Linked DNA regions of Homo sapiens: region 2 is linked to region 1. The links are contacts of gene promoters, found by promoter capture Hi-C in human tissues and cell types (Jung and others, 2019). All regions are on one chromosome and are shown on one strand. Each heading gives the region's core, a stretch centred on a gene start or on the middle of the fragment in contact. The rest is flanking DNA. Distances are from core to core; before and after follow the strand shown. Region 1 overlaps SAFB2 (scaffold attachment factor B2). Region 2 holds the start of PLIN3 (perilipin 3).

The links. The method cuts DNA at HindIII sites, captures the fragments that hold promoters and counts their contacts. A contact is called where the count stands out against the background at its distance.
Region 2: a contact is called between the fragment with the promoter of PLIN3 here and a fragment that was not itself captured in region 1, in 2 of the 25 tissues and cell types used here (dorsolateral prefrontal cortex and heart right ventricle).

What each region holds. Positions count from the first base shown.
Region 1 is chr19:5,603,986-5,610,344 of GRCh38, reverse strand. It overlaps SAFB2 (scaffold attachment factor B2), which reads left to right. Exons shown (of 21, transcript NM_014649.3): 9 at 250-350; 10 at 5,409-5,558; 11 at 5,650-5,762. Among named protein-coding and RNA genes, the nearest start is that of SAFB2, 16 kb to the left of the region's middle. The HindIII fragment of the contact is 3,966 bases long and covers 134-4,099 here.
Region 2 is chr19:4,864,847-4,870,896 of GRCh38, reverse strand. PLIN3 (perilipin 3) reads left to right here and starts at 3,230. Exons shown (of 8, transcript NM_005817.5): 1 at 3,230-3,288. RefSeq lists silencers at 529-608, 485-649, 3,073-3,252, a cis regulatory region at 330-816 and enhancers at 3,470-3,970, 3,913-4,262. The HindIII fragment of the contact is 15,856 bases long and covers 1-6,050 here.

The DNA.
Region 1 (6,359 bases), core at 867-3,366:
CTGATCATCAAAAGACATTTCAGTTCATAACTGACATGGGCATGATTATTCCTTGAGTAAGGAAACTCAGTTTTTGCTGTCCAGATTTTCAGCCTTCTGTGTGTTGGCATGTGTGTGTGCGTTAAATTCTTAAGTCAGCAGTTGGGATTGGGCGTCGTTAGGGTTTTTAAAGAGGGCTGCGGTCTTAAGAATGGTTGTGCTTCCTGTTAGGCCTTGGGGTGATGCCTAAGAATCTCCCTCTCGTGCCAGGTCGGGTCGGCAGCGGTTCTGGTCGGAACCTGTGGGTCAGCGGGCTGTCCTCCACAACACGCGCTACGGATCTCAAGAACCTTTTCAGCAAGTATGGGAAGGTATGCCTTCCCTTGCCTCATACCATCCACTGTGATTCAGAGTTAAAAAGGAAGCTCTGCTGGGCACGGTGGTTCACGTCTATAATCCCAGCAGTTTGGGAGGCTGAGGCAGGAGGATTGCTTGAGCCCAGGAGTTCAAGACCAGCCTGGGCAACATAGCAAGATGTTGTGTTTACTAAAAAATGGAACGACAGCAGCGAAGCTCGCCCAGTCTTGTGCAGTGCACCTTGTTTCCTGACTCACAGTAACTAGGGTGCGGAGCAGGGCAGGTGGTTGGTCATATCACAACAGTGCTCAGAACAGCTGTATAAACAGCTTCTCTCTCAATGTTCTTGGGGTTCTTTCTAACTGGTCTCAAAGAGACTGGTGGTCTTTTGTCTTGTGCAAAACTTAAAGCTTACATGATGAGATTTTTCCCTTAAGAATAATTTGGGAGGCCGAGGCGGGCGTATCACCTAAAGTCAGGAGTTGGAGACCAGCCTGGCCAACATGGCGAAACCCTGTCTCTGCTAAAAATACAAAAATCAGCCAGCCGTGGTGTTCTGTGCCTGTAGTCGCAGCTACTCGGGAAGCTGAGGTGGGAGAATCACTTGAACCCAGGAGGCAGAGGTTGCAGTGAGCCAAGATTGTGCCACTGCACTCCAGCCTGGGTAACAGAGCGAGACTATGTCATAAAAAAAAAAAAAAAAAAAAAGAATGAAGTGAATAATTGACTTTCATATCATTTAGCATTTTAAGTATATAGTCTCATAACTAGAACATGATCGTGGTTCAAAAATAAATCACTAAGATGCTGCTCATGGGGGTGGGAGAAAAATAGTACAATTCAGCAGCTTTCCAAAGGAAGGTGAGGACAATTTAAAATGATTCCACTGTTTGAAATTAATTAAGAGTCTTCTTTTTTTGTTTGTTTGTTGTTCTTTTTTTTTTTTTTTTTTTTTTTGAGACTGCGTCTCGCTCTGTTGCCCAGGCTGAAGTGCAGTGGTGTGATCTTGGCTCACTGCAGCCTCCGCCTCCCTCCCAGGTTCAAGTGATTCTCGTGCCTTAGCTTCTCGAGTAGCTGGGATTACAGGCACCCACCACCATGCCTGGCTAATTTTTGTATTTTCAGTAGAGATGGGGTTTCGCCATGTTGGCCAGACTGGTCTCCAACTCCTGACCTATGTGATCTGCCTGCTTGGCCTCCCAAAATGCTGGGATTACAGGCGTGAGCCACCGCGCCTAGCCAAGAGTCTTCTGGTAAGCAATTGGCACTGCCCTGGTCTCCTGGGTGCCTCTGGGGAGTGGCTTCCAAGGGACAAGGTTCGGACCATTTAGTGTCTGGAGGGTGCCCTGATTCCAGGCAGAGTGGGCCCTGTCTGACACAGTTTTCTGGCTACAGAAGCCGTTCCTTTGTCTAGGTCTGTGTCACCCGATCAGGTGTTGGTTAATGTTTCATTGCTTAAGAAGCGGACAGGACCCGGAGAAAGCGTGCTGTTCAATTTTTCTCTGAACAGTCTGTGTGTTCAGCAAGGGCTTAGGAAATTCTTATAGCCATGAATAACCTGTTTATTCAGTTACTTTGTTGACTTCACTCGGACACTGATGATTAAGCAGAGGTAAACATACGTGGTCACTGTCATCACAGATTTTTTAGTCTGGCGGGAAAAAGACCATTTAAGAAATAAACACATATGATGTGTTGTGATGAGCGTATTAAGGAATATTAGAGCACGCCGTCAGTGTGTTGGGGAGGCCGTGTTTAGATTTGGGAGGCAGCTTCAGCAGAGCTCGCTGAAGAAGTGACATTCAGCTGAGGCGTGAGTGACAGAGTTGGCCTTACCTGTGGGGCTCAGCTCTGGACAAAAACAGAAGGACGTAGGAAGGCCAGAGGGGCAGGACACCACTCAGCTACTTGACTGAAGTATGCAGAGCCTCCAGGGCGGATGGCATAGCTCAGGGATAGGGACATACAAGCTTAGTATGGTGCCTGCTCTCATTTGGGTTTTGTCTGTCATCAGAAGAGATATACTTGTAAGGATGATTAATTTGATGGGAAGGTAGAATGGGAAGTGGCATCTGTGTTTCTCTCAGGAGAGTCTTCTGTCCCTTTGGCCCTGGACAGATTCAGGCAGAGCCTTGACTCCTCCATTTGTGTGGTCAAAACCAAGGACGTCAGATGGGAACCTCAAGCTTGTGGGTTCCACCTTGTCATTTCACAGTTGGGGCCATGAGGTCCAGAGACGGGGAATGCCTTGCTTAGGTTGATGCCCTGAGTCAGAGATAGGGCAGAGACCAGGACTCCTGTGTCCCGGGGAAATGTTTACTCTGCGCGCCAGTGGTGGTGGGCTTGGCGTTAGATCTACTGTCTTGTTCTCTATTTTCTGTTCATGTTTGTTTATTGATCTCTTTTTCCCATTTATCTGCCTTCTTGTGGGTCGAGTCCTTTTTATGACTGATGGCTTATTTGCTCTAACTCTGTGTCATTGTGGTTTACTGTAGGATTACAGTACACATCTTCCCTTACAGTCTGTCTGCAAGGGGTGCTCTGTTGGTTTCAGCGTAGTGCAAGAACTCTGTGGGAATATACTTGCATTTCCCCTCCCGTCGATCTTTGTGATGTTATTGTCATACGGTTTACTTCTCTTTAAGAAGTCACCCAATATTTTATTGGCTTTGACTTGTTGTGGTTTGGCTTTTTTGCTTTGAACAGTTGTGTTTTTTTTTGTTTTTGTTTTTGTTTTTGTTTGTTTTTGAGACGGAGTCTCGCTCTGTCGCCTAGGCTGGAGTGCAGTGGCGCGATCTCGGCTCACTGCAAGCTCTGCCTCCTGGGTTCATGCCATTCTCCTGCCTCAGCCTCCCAAGTAGCTGGAACTACAGGTGCCCGCCACCAGGCCTGGCTAATTTTTTGTATTTTAAGTAGAGATGGGGTTTCACTGTGTTAGTCAGGATGGTCTTGATCTCCTGACCTCGTGATCCTCCCACCTCGGCCTCCCAAAGTGCTGAGATTACAGGCGTGAGCCACCACGCCCAGCCAAACAGTTATATTTTAAAGAGACCCAGAAATGACAGGAAAAAATCATGTTCACCTCACCAGGTGCTCTTCGTTGCTTTTTGTTGTATATCCAAGTTCCCATCGGAGATCATCTTCCTCCCTCCTGAAGGAATTGAATGTTTCCTGTAGTGCAGGTTTGCTGGTGATACGTTCTTGTTTCTTTTGCATGTCAGAAAAAGTCTTTACTTTGTCTTCATTTTGAAATAAATTTTCACTGGGTATAGAATTCTAGGTTAATTTAATCTTTGTTCCTTCAGTTACCAATTTGTGTCTTTTCTCTCTCTTTTTCTGTGGCTGCTTTTAAGTTTCTTCTGGTTTTTTTGTTTTGTTTTGTTTTCCCTTAGAGACAGGATCTCACTGTGTCACCCAGGCTGGAGTACAGTGGTGCTCACTGCAGCCTCGAGCTCCCGGGCTCAAGCGATCCTCTCACCTCAGCCTCCTGAGTAGCTGAGACCACAGGCATGTACCACTACACCCAGCTAATTTTTAAAATTTTTGGTACAGATGTGGTTTCTCTGTGTTGCCCAGGCTGGTTTTGAACACCTGGCCTCAAGTGATCTACCTGCCTTGGCCTCACAAAGTGCTGGGATTACAGGCATGAGCCACTGTGCCCAGCCTGTGCCTGGTAATTTTTTACTGGATGTTGTGAATTGTATTTTTTGGGTGCTAGTTATACTTGTATCTCTACAAATACCCTTGAGCTTTTTTCTGGGACACAGCTGAGGTACTGGACACACACTAAGGCAGGGCCAAAGTAGCCTTCAGTTTGGGCTGATTTTGTCTCACCACTGGGCAGTGCCCTCTGAGTAGTGGGTCTGATGGCCCGTGAATTACCAGCCTTTCCACCCTGGCTATTGGGAAGAGCAAACCATTTGTGGCCCTGAGTGCCCCTCCAGTGGTTGTTCCCTCTGCTCCTGATTGTTCCCTCTGCTCCTTATGGGTGGTGCTGTCCCAGCCTCTGGTTTCCTCGCACACGTGTGCACTGGGTGGGAGGAACCCTCTGTGGGTCTCTTCAGCTTGCTCTGCGTGGCTCTGTGTGGCTGTGTCCTCTCTGATACTCAGTTCCGTGATTTCTCTCTGTCTTGGTCTCAGAATCTCAGTGCTGTCTTACCCATCCCCCATTGCCTGGGAATCTAGGCAGTGAGCAGGGGCAGTCAGGGAGCTCTCAGGGATTGTTGTCTTGGGCAGCCTGATGTCCAGGATCTGAAAACTGTCGTTGCCTACGTTTCATCACATTTGTTAGTTGTTTCAGGCAGGAAGACAATGCTTAGTTCTCCCATCTCAGCCAGAAGTGGAAGTCCTTTCCCCATGGGGACATTTCTGACAGTCCATGTCTGTGTCAGAGCTCTTCTCAGGCCCAGCTGGAGTGGATGGGTGCATTTCTTAGTAGCCCCACAGCTGTTTGTGGGCACAGTGGAAATAGAGAAAACAATGTGGATGGGTAGGACTTCTGGTTATTAGTTGTGAGTAATGAAGTTTAATGGTTTTATAACCTTGCATGTTTGTGTGTTTTCCTTGTGATGACTTATCTTGTATTAAAAGCAGTTGTATTTAGTGGCTGGGTGCGGTGTCTCATGCCTGTAATCCCAGCACTTTGGGAGGCCGACTTGGGTAGATCACTTGAGGTCAGGAGTTGGAGACCAGCCTGGCCAACATGGAGAAACCCCATCTCTACTAAAAACACAAAAATTAGCCAGGCGTGGTGGCGGGCGCCTGTAATCCCAGCTACTTCGGAGGCTGAGGCGGGAGAATTGCTTGAACCCAGGAGGCGGAGGTCGCGGTGAGCCGAGATCGCGACACTGCACTCCAGCCTGGGTGACAGAGCGAAACTGTCTCAAAAAAAAAAAAAGCAATTGTATTTGGATAGGTCAGGATTAATTAGAACCAATTCAGTAACTAAAATGGAAAACTACCATATGGGGAGAGGTGACAAATAGTGAAAATGATTCTGATTGCCAGGTAATAACTTTAGCAAGTTGTGTGGTCATTTGTATGAGAGAGTAAGAGTGCCCTTTTTCATGAAGGTTGTCGGGGCCAAAGTGGTAACGAACGCCCGCAGCCCGGGGGCTCGATGCTATGGATTCGTCACCATGTCGACATCTGACGAGGCGACCAAGTGCATCAGCCATCTCCACAGAACTGAGCTGCATGGACGAATGATCTCCGTAGAGAAGGTGAGGCAGTTCTCGTCTATGGTAACTCGCAAATGGAGTTTGCAAGTGAGAAGCTCTGGGCCACACATCATTTCTGTCTATTATATTTTAGGCCAAAAATGAGCCTGCTGGGAAAAAGCTTTCCGACAGAAAAGAGTGCGAAGTGAAGAAGGAAAAATTATCGAGTGTCGACAGACATCATTCTGTGGAGATCAAAATTGAAAAGTAAAGTGAATTTTCAAACCTCCTCTTGGAATCCCTGGGAGGAGGGCACGGGCAGCCACCATGGGCCTTGAAAAACACGCATCTGTCCCCACCTGTACCCACGCAGCCTTGCCAGCTTCCTGCTGGAGTCTCAGCTGATTTTTGTGTTCTGCTGCCACTTTAATATTCAGCTTTTATTTATTTATTTTTTGGAGACAGGGACTCACTCTGTTGCCTAGGCTGGAGTGCAGTGGCACTGCAGCCTCCACCTTCCGGGTTCAAGTGATTCTCCTACTTCAGCCTCCCAAGTAACTGGGACTACTGCAGGCGTACACCACCCAGCCAGGCTACTTTTTATAGAGACGCGGTTTCGCCATGTTACCAAGGCTGGTCTCAAACTCCTGAGTTCACATGATTTGCCCGCCTTGGCCTCTCAAAGTGCTAGGATTACAGGTGTGAGCCACCACGCCCTGCCAGTCTTCAGCTTTCTGTGTAAAGCTATTTAACGAAGTAGCCCATGTCTTTAAGAAGTGGATACAGTTGATCCTCAGCATGTATTTGTTTCCTGATAACTGATTAGCCTTTTGAAAAAACAGTATACACAAAATGTCATTTTCC
Region 2 (6,050 bases), core at 1,981-4,480, 740 kb after region 1:
TTTCTTTTCTTTTTTTTTTTTTTTGAAACAGAGTTTCACTCTTGTTGCCCAGGCTGGAGTGCAATGGCACAATCTGGCTCACTGCAACATCTGCCTCCCAGGTTCAAGTGATTCTCCTGCCTCAGCCTCCTGACTAGCTGGGATTACAGGCATGCGCCACCGCACCTGGCTAATTTTGTATTTTTAGTAGGGACGGGGTTTCTCCATGTTGGTCAGGCTGGTCTCAAACTCCCGACCTCAGGTGATCCGCCCACCTCGGCCTCCCAAAGTGCTGGGATTATAGGCGTGAGCCACTGCGCCCAGCCAACAGTAGCTATTTCTTACCTCTCACCCTAGGGCTGTGGGAGGCCAGGCGGGGACTCCTGGGCAGATGTTGCCATCAAGAAGAACCAAAAGCCTGGGAGATGACTCTGTCTCAAAAAAAAAAAACAACAAAAAACGGTGTGGGGCAAAATCACCAGGGCTCATCCCCTAGACCAGAGCTATTTTGTTACTCAAGGCCACTAAGAAGTTAAGGGTTAACAGGCAAATCTCCCACTGACCTTGAATCTTGGATGAGTCACTTCCCCTCTCTGAGCCATCCCAGCCCTCCCCTCCTCCCTCTCTCTCACTCACTGTACTCCAGCCACTGGGGCCTCCTCACTGTTCTAACAGGCAGGGTGTGGTCCTGCCTCAGGGCCTTTGCACGGACTGTGCCTGCTGCCTGGAATGCTGTTCCCCCTAACTGGACATGGTTCCCTCCTGGCCTCTCTCTCTTCTCTTCTTGGATGTCACTCAGAAAGGCCTCCTCTGACCTCCCTACTAAAAACTGCGGCCCCACCGGGTGTGGTGGCTCATGCCTATAACCCAGCACCTTGAGAGGCCAGGGCTGGTGGATCACATGAGGTCAGGAGTTCGAGACCAGCCTGGCCAACATGGTGAAGCCCCGTCTCTACTAAAAAAAAAAAAAATACAAAAATTGGCCAGGCATGGTGGCACAGGCCTGTAATCCCAGCCACTTGGGAGGTCGAGGAACAAGAATTTCTTGAACCTGGGAGGCGGAGGTTGCAGTGAGCCGAGATCGTGCCACTGCACTCCAGCCTGGGTGACAGAGTGAGACTCTTTGACAAAAAACAAGAACAAAATCCCCGCATCCCCCACATTCATCTCGTCCTTTGCTGTCCTACCACGTGACACATTGTAAAGTTCTCTCACTTATGTTGTTCCTTGTTCGTCTCTCCCACTGGGTAGTGTGTGTCACCAGGGCTGGAATTCTTATCTGTTTAGCTCACCGCTGTCCCCAGCGCAAGGACTCAATAAATATGGTTGAATGAGTGAATGAGAAGGAAAAAGCCTGTTACAAATGTCATGGAATGGGGTCTCAGATTCACTTGAGAATCTCACTAGCTGCCTGAAGTTACTTAAATTTAAACATTCAGGCCAAGCGCGGTAGCTCACACCTGTAATCCCAGCACTTTAGGAGGCCGAGGCAGGTGGATCACTTGAGGCCAGGAGTTCGAGACCAGCCTGGCCAATATGGTTAGTCCTCGTCTCTACTAAAAATACAAAAATTAGCTGGGTGTGGTGGCGCGCGCCTGTAATCCCAGCTACTTGGGAGGCTGAGGCAGGAGAACCGCTTGAACCCGGGAGGTGGAGGTTGTAGTGAGTCGAGATCGCGCCATTGCACTCCAGCCTGGGAGACAGAGCGAGACTCTGCCTCAAAAAAAAAAAAAAAATTTAAACATTCAGCTTCTCACTGTGCATTAGCCACGTGGTGCTTTTGGCTACAATGTTGGATGGCACACAATTCTAGAATTGCAGAAAGTTCTATTGGACAGTGCTAGCATAGACCCTGTCCCCACTCACCCCCCCAAAAAAATGCAGTCACAGACACCCAATTTTTCCCATGTTCTTTCTAAAGCTACCAGAAGCTTCATTCTATTCAAATAATTTGGCAGAGGTGGCAAACTGGTGGCCCCTGGGCTGGACAAAGCCCCAGTTGGGTTTCATTTGGTCCAATTGTTCCCTAACAGGCAGGACATGTCTACAGCTTGAACTTCCTGTGGATCTGTGACTCTCCAGGTGGGTCTCCCATAGGGCACTGCTCTCCCCTGCCCCTCTAAGCAGGGCATCACTGCCACCTCCTCAGCAGAAATATTCACCTCCTCCCTGGACCATCTGAGATTGAGACCTTGGTTTATAGACCAAGAGGATAAATAATTTGGGAGGTGGAGAGGGGCGGGGTAAAATCCAAGTGGGGGCAGCTTCAGGAAAAGGTTGATCCAGCAGTCACAGAGCCTGGAGCCTGACCCCTCCATTGCCCCTGGCTGACCCTCTCCAGGCCTCAGTTTCCTTCTCTGCAAAATAGGGATGATTAAAAAGACAATACAGTGCTGGGAGGATGAAGTGGTCTGATGTTGGGCAGATCAGGCCGGAGGCTGGACAAGTTCCCGTGGTGGTTCAAGTCACTCATATAGCTGGGTTGGGCCGGGTGCGGTGGCTCATACCTGTGATCCCAGCAATTTGGGAGGCCCAAGCGGGCAGATCACTTGAGGTCAGGAGTTCAAGACCAACATGGTGAAACCCCGTCTCTGCTAAAAATACAAAAAATTAGCCGGGCGTGGTGGCACGTGTCTGTAATCCCAGCTACTCAGGAGGCTGAGGCAGGAGAATCGCTTGAATCCAGGAGGTGGAGGCTGCAGTGAGCCAAGGTCGCGTCACTGCACTCCAGCCTTAGCGACAGAGCGAGACTGTGTCTCAAAAAAAAAAAAAAAGTGTGTGTGTGTGTGTGTGTGTGTGTGTGTACATATAGCTGAGTCGGAGCCCATGGTGGAGGGCGTGGCCCCTGACGCGCTGGCGAGGGTCACCCTGCAACTCTCCCAGGGTTCTCGCAGCCTCAGTTTGGCCATAGGGGAAATGGGCGACCTGGGGAATCCCAGCACCTGTGCGGCGCCCCCGATCGCACTCACCTCCCAGGGCCAACTTCACAGGGTCCCCAGCTGCGGAGCGGGGGTCCCGTGGCTGGGACAGGCGTGGTCCAAGAGTGCTCCCTCCCCTTCAGGGGCAGGGCGTGGAGTCCTTCCCGGACTTCATGACTTGGCGAGGGGCGGGGCCTAGTGGAGGCGGGGCAGGGAGGAGAGGGGCGGGCCTGGCGCGGGCAATCCCTCAACCTGATTGGTCCCCTCGCCCGTCACTCCAGTGCGCCCCCAACCTACCACGCAGTAAAAGCCACCCCCGCCTCGGCCCGGACGGTTTCCAAGCTGGTTTTGAAGTCGCGGCAGCTGTTCCTGGGACGTCCGGTTGACCGCGGTGAGTGGCGGGGGCGTCTCAGTTGAGCTGGGGGGCGGTGTCCATGGAGTCCTGGGGCACCCCAGGGGCCGGAGGGGTCGGGGAGGGCCTTTCTCGGGGTGGGATTTGCTGGACTCTGCGGCCTGGGGAGGGGTCTTCAGCCCAGGCTGGTCACCCCTCCCCCCAGAAAAATCCAACTTCTGCAACGAAGCTCAGACTTTGAAACCCTCTTCTCACTTCCTGGGACTTTTGAGGGGCGAAAGAGCCCCGTAGAAGGGGTGATATTGAAGGGGGTGGGCTAAATACCGCCCCCCGCCCACCAGGTTTTCTCTAAATTTTGAACAGTTTGCTTTTGGAAACGCCATTTGCAGGCAAGTTTCCTCCTGCGGGCAGAATCTCCGCCCTCCCTTCTGGGGTTTTCAGAGACACCCCCCGCCACCGCAAAGCCCCCTCCCCTACAGATGGTTTTGCCACGGGTGGGGGTGGGGGTTGCCCCAGCTCCTGGCGCCCCCAACTGATTCTGGGGAGGTCTTGGGCAAAGCCTGCCCACTTCCCTCGGGTGGGCGTGGCGACGAGGTGGCTTAAAAGTAGGAAGGCCTATCCGTTAACTGCTTTGGGGTTCTTGTCCCGGCTAGGCCTGGCAGTGGGACCTGGGGCCCTTGGAATTTTGGAAGTCCAGTCTTAGCATGCTCTGAAGTTGCTGGATGGCTGGGTCTGGCCTGGAGCTCCCCTTCTGGAGCCAGCGGCAAGGCAGGTCACTGACCCCCAGGGGTTTCATAGGGTGTTGACATCTGCCATGGCCACCCTTGCTTAAACCAGTTCCAGGAAGTCATGGTGGACAGAGGGGACGGGAGGAAGCTGCCTGAGTCCTAAGTGGGACTTGAGAATCGGTCGAGGCCAGGAGTTTGATGCCTGCCTACCTGGCCCCCTGCCCAGGTGAGCTCAGGCTCCAAAGGAGGTGAGGAGAAGCACAGATTTAGGCAATGATCACTGGGAGGTAGGTATGTCTTCTCACCTGACTTCCCAGTTGGGGGACTTTTGTACCTAGCAGGAAGCTGGTTCCTGGCTGGCTTTACCCCTTTGTCCGTGGAAGCCAGAGTGCGGTGAGATAGTTTATGGAGCACTTACTATGTGCCGGGCACGGATCTGAGCTTCCCCGGAGCAGCGTCTCCTCCAGTCCACAGGGACTCCAGGCTCTTGTGAAACACTTATACACATTTCACAGATGTGGCAAGCAAGACTCCTAGGGGATGCTGCCTTCCCAAACTCCTATTCCTAGTGAGTTGCCAAGCTGGGATTAGAACCCATTCTGGGCTGGGCAGGATGACTCACGCCTATAATCCCAGCACTTTGGGAGGCTGAGGTGGGCGGATCATTTGAGGTCAGGAGTTGGAGAACAGCCTGGCCAACATGGTGAAACCCCACCTCTACTAAAAATATAAAAATTAGCCGGACGTGGTGGCGGGCACCTGTATTCCCAGATACTCTGGAGGCTGAGGCAGGAGAATCGCTTGAACCTGGGAGATGGAGGTTACACTGAACTGAGATCACGCCACTGCATTCCAGCCTGGGCGACAGAGCAAGACTCTGTCTCAAAAAAAAAAAAAGGCCGGGCATGGTGGCTCACGCCTGTAATCCCAGCATTTTCGGAGGCCGAGGCGGGCGGATCATGAGGTCAGGAGATCGAGACGATCCTGGCTAACATGGTGAAATCCCATCTCTACTAAAAATACAAACAATTAGCCAGGCGTGGTGGCGGGCGCCTGTGGTCCCAGCTACTCGGGAGGCTGAGGCAGGAGAATGGCGTGAACCGGGGAGGCAGAGCTTGCAGTGAGCTGAGATCGCGCCACTGCACTCCAGCGTGGGCGACAGGGCGAGACTCCGTCTCAAAAAAAAAAACAAAAAAAAAAAAATGGAAAGAACCCAATCTGGACTCCAGATCTAGTGCTTGCAAAACATCATCATTTTGCTGGGTTCTGCTTAGGGGACATCGAAGCAAGGCCACCAGGAGGTGGGGCCTCATTCCTCTGGGAAAAGATGCTCAGACTCAAGGCCACAGGTTCTTAGGCTCACACCAGAATTCCCCAGGAAAGCAGCCCATAAGACAGGCATGACCTTTAGCCCCATGTTTTTTTTTTTTTGAAACGGAGTCTCCCTCTGTCACCCGGGCTGGAGTGCAGTGGTGCGATCTCGACTCACTGCAACCTCCACCTCCCAGGTTCAAGCAATTCTCCTGCCTCAGCCTCCTGTGTAGCTGGGACTACAGGTGTCAGCCAAAATACACGGCTAATTTTTGTATTTTTAGTAGAGATGGGGTTTCACCATGTTGGTCAGGCTGGTCTCAAACTCCCGACCTTAGGTGATCTGCCCGCCTCAGCCTCCCAAAGTGCTGGGATTACAGGCGTGAGCTACCATGCCTGGCTTTTTCTTTTTTCTTTGAGATGGAGTCTTCCTCTGTCACCCAGGCTGGAGTGTAGTGGCGCAGTCTTGGCTTACTGCAACCTCCGCCTCCCAGGTTGAAGCAATTCCCCTGCCTCAGTCTCCCAAGTAGCTGGGACTACAGGCGCCCGCCACCACACCCGCACCTAATTTTTGTATTTTTAGTAGAGACAGTGTTTCAGTATGTTGGCCAGGCTGCTCTTGAACTCCTGACCTCATGATCCACCCACCTCAGCCTCCCAGCGTGCTGGGATTACAGGTGTGAGCCACCATGCCCGACCCTTTAGCCTCATATTACAGGTAAGATGACCGAGGCCAGAGGAGGGGAAGGCGCCTTGCTCCAG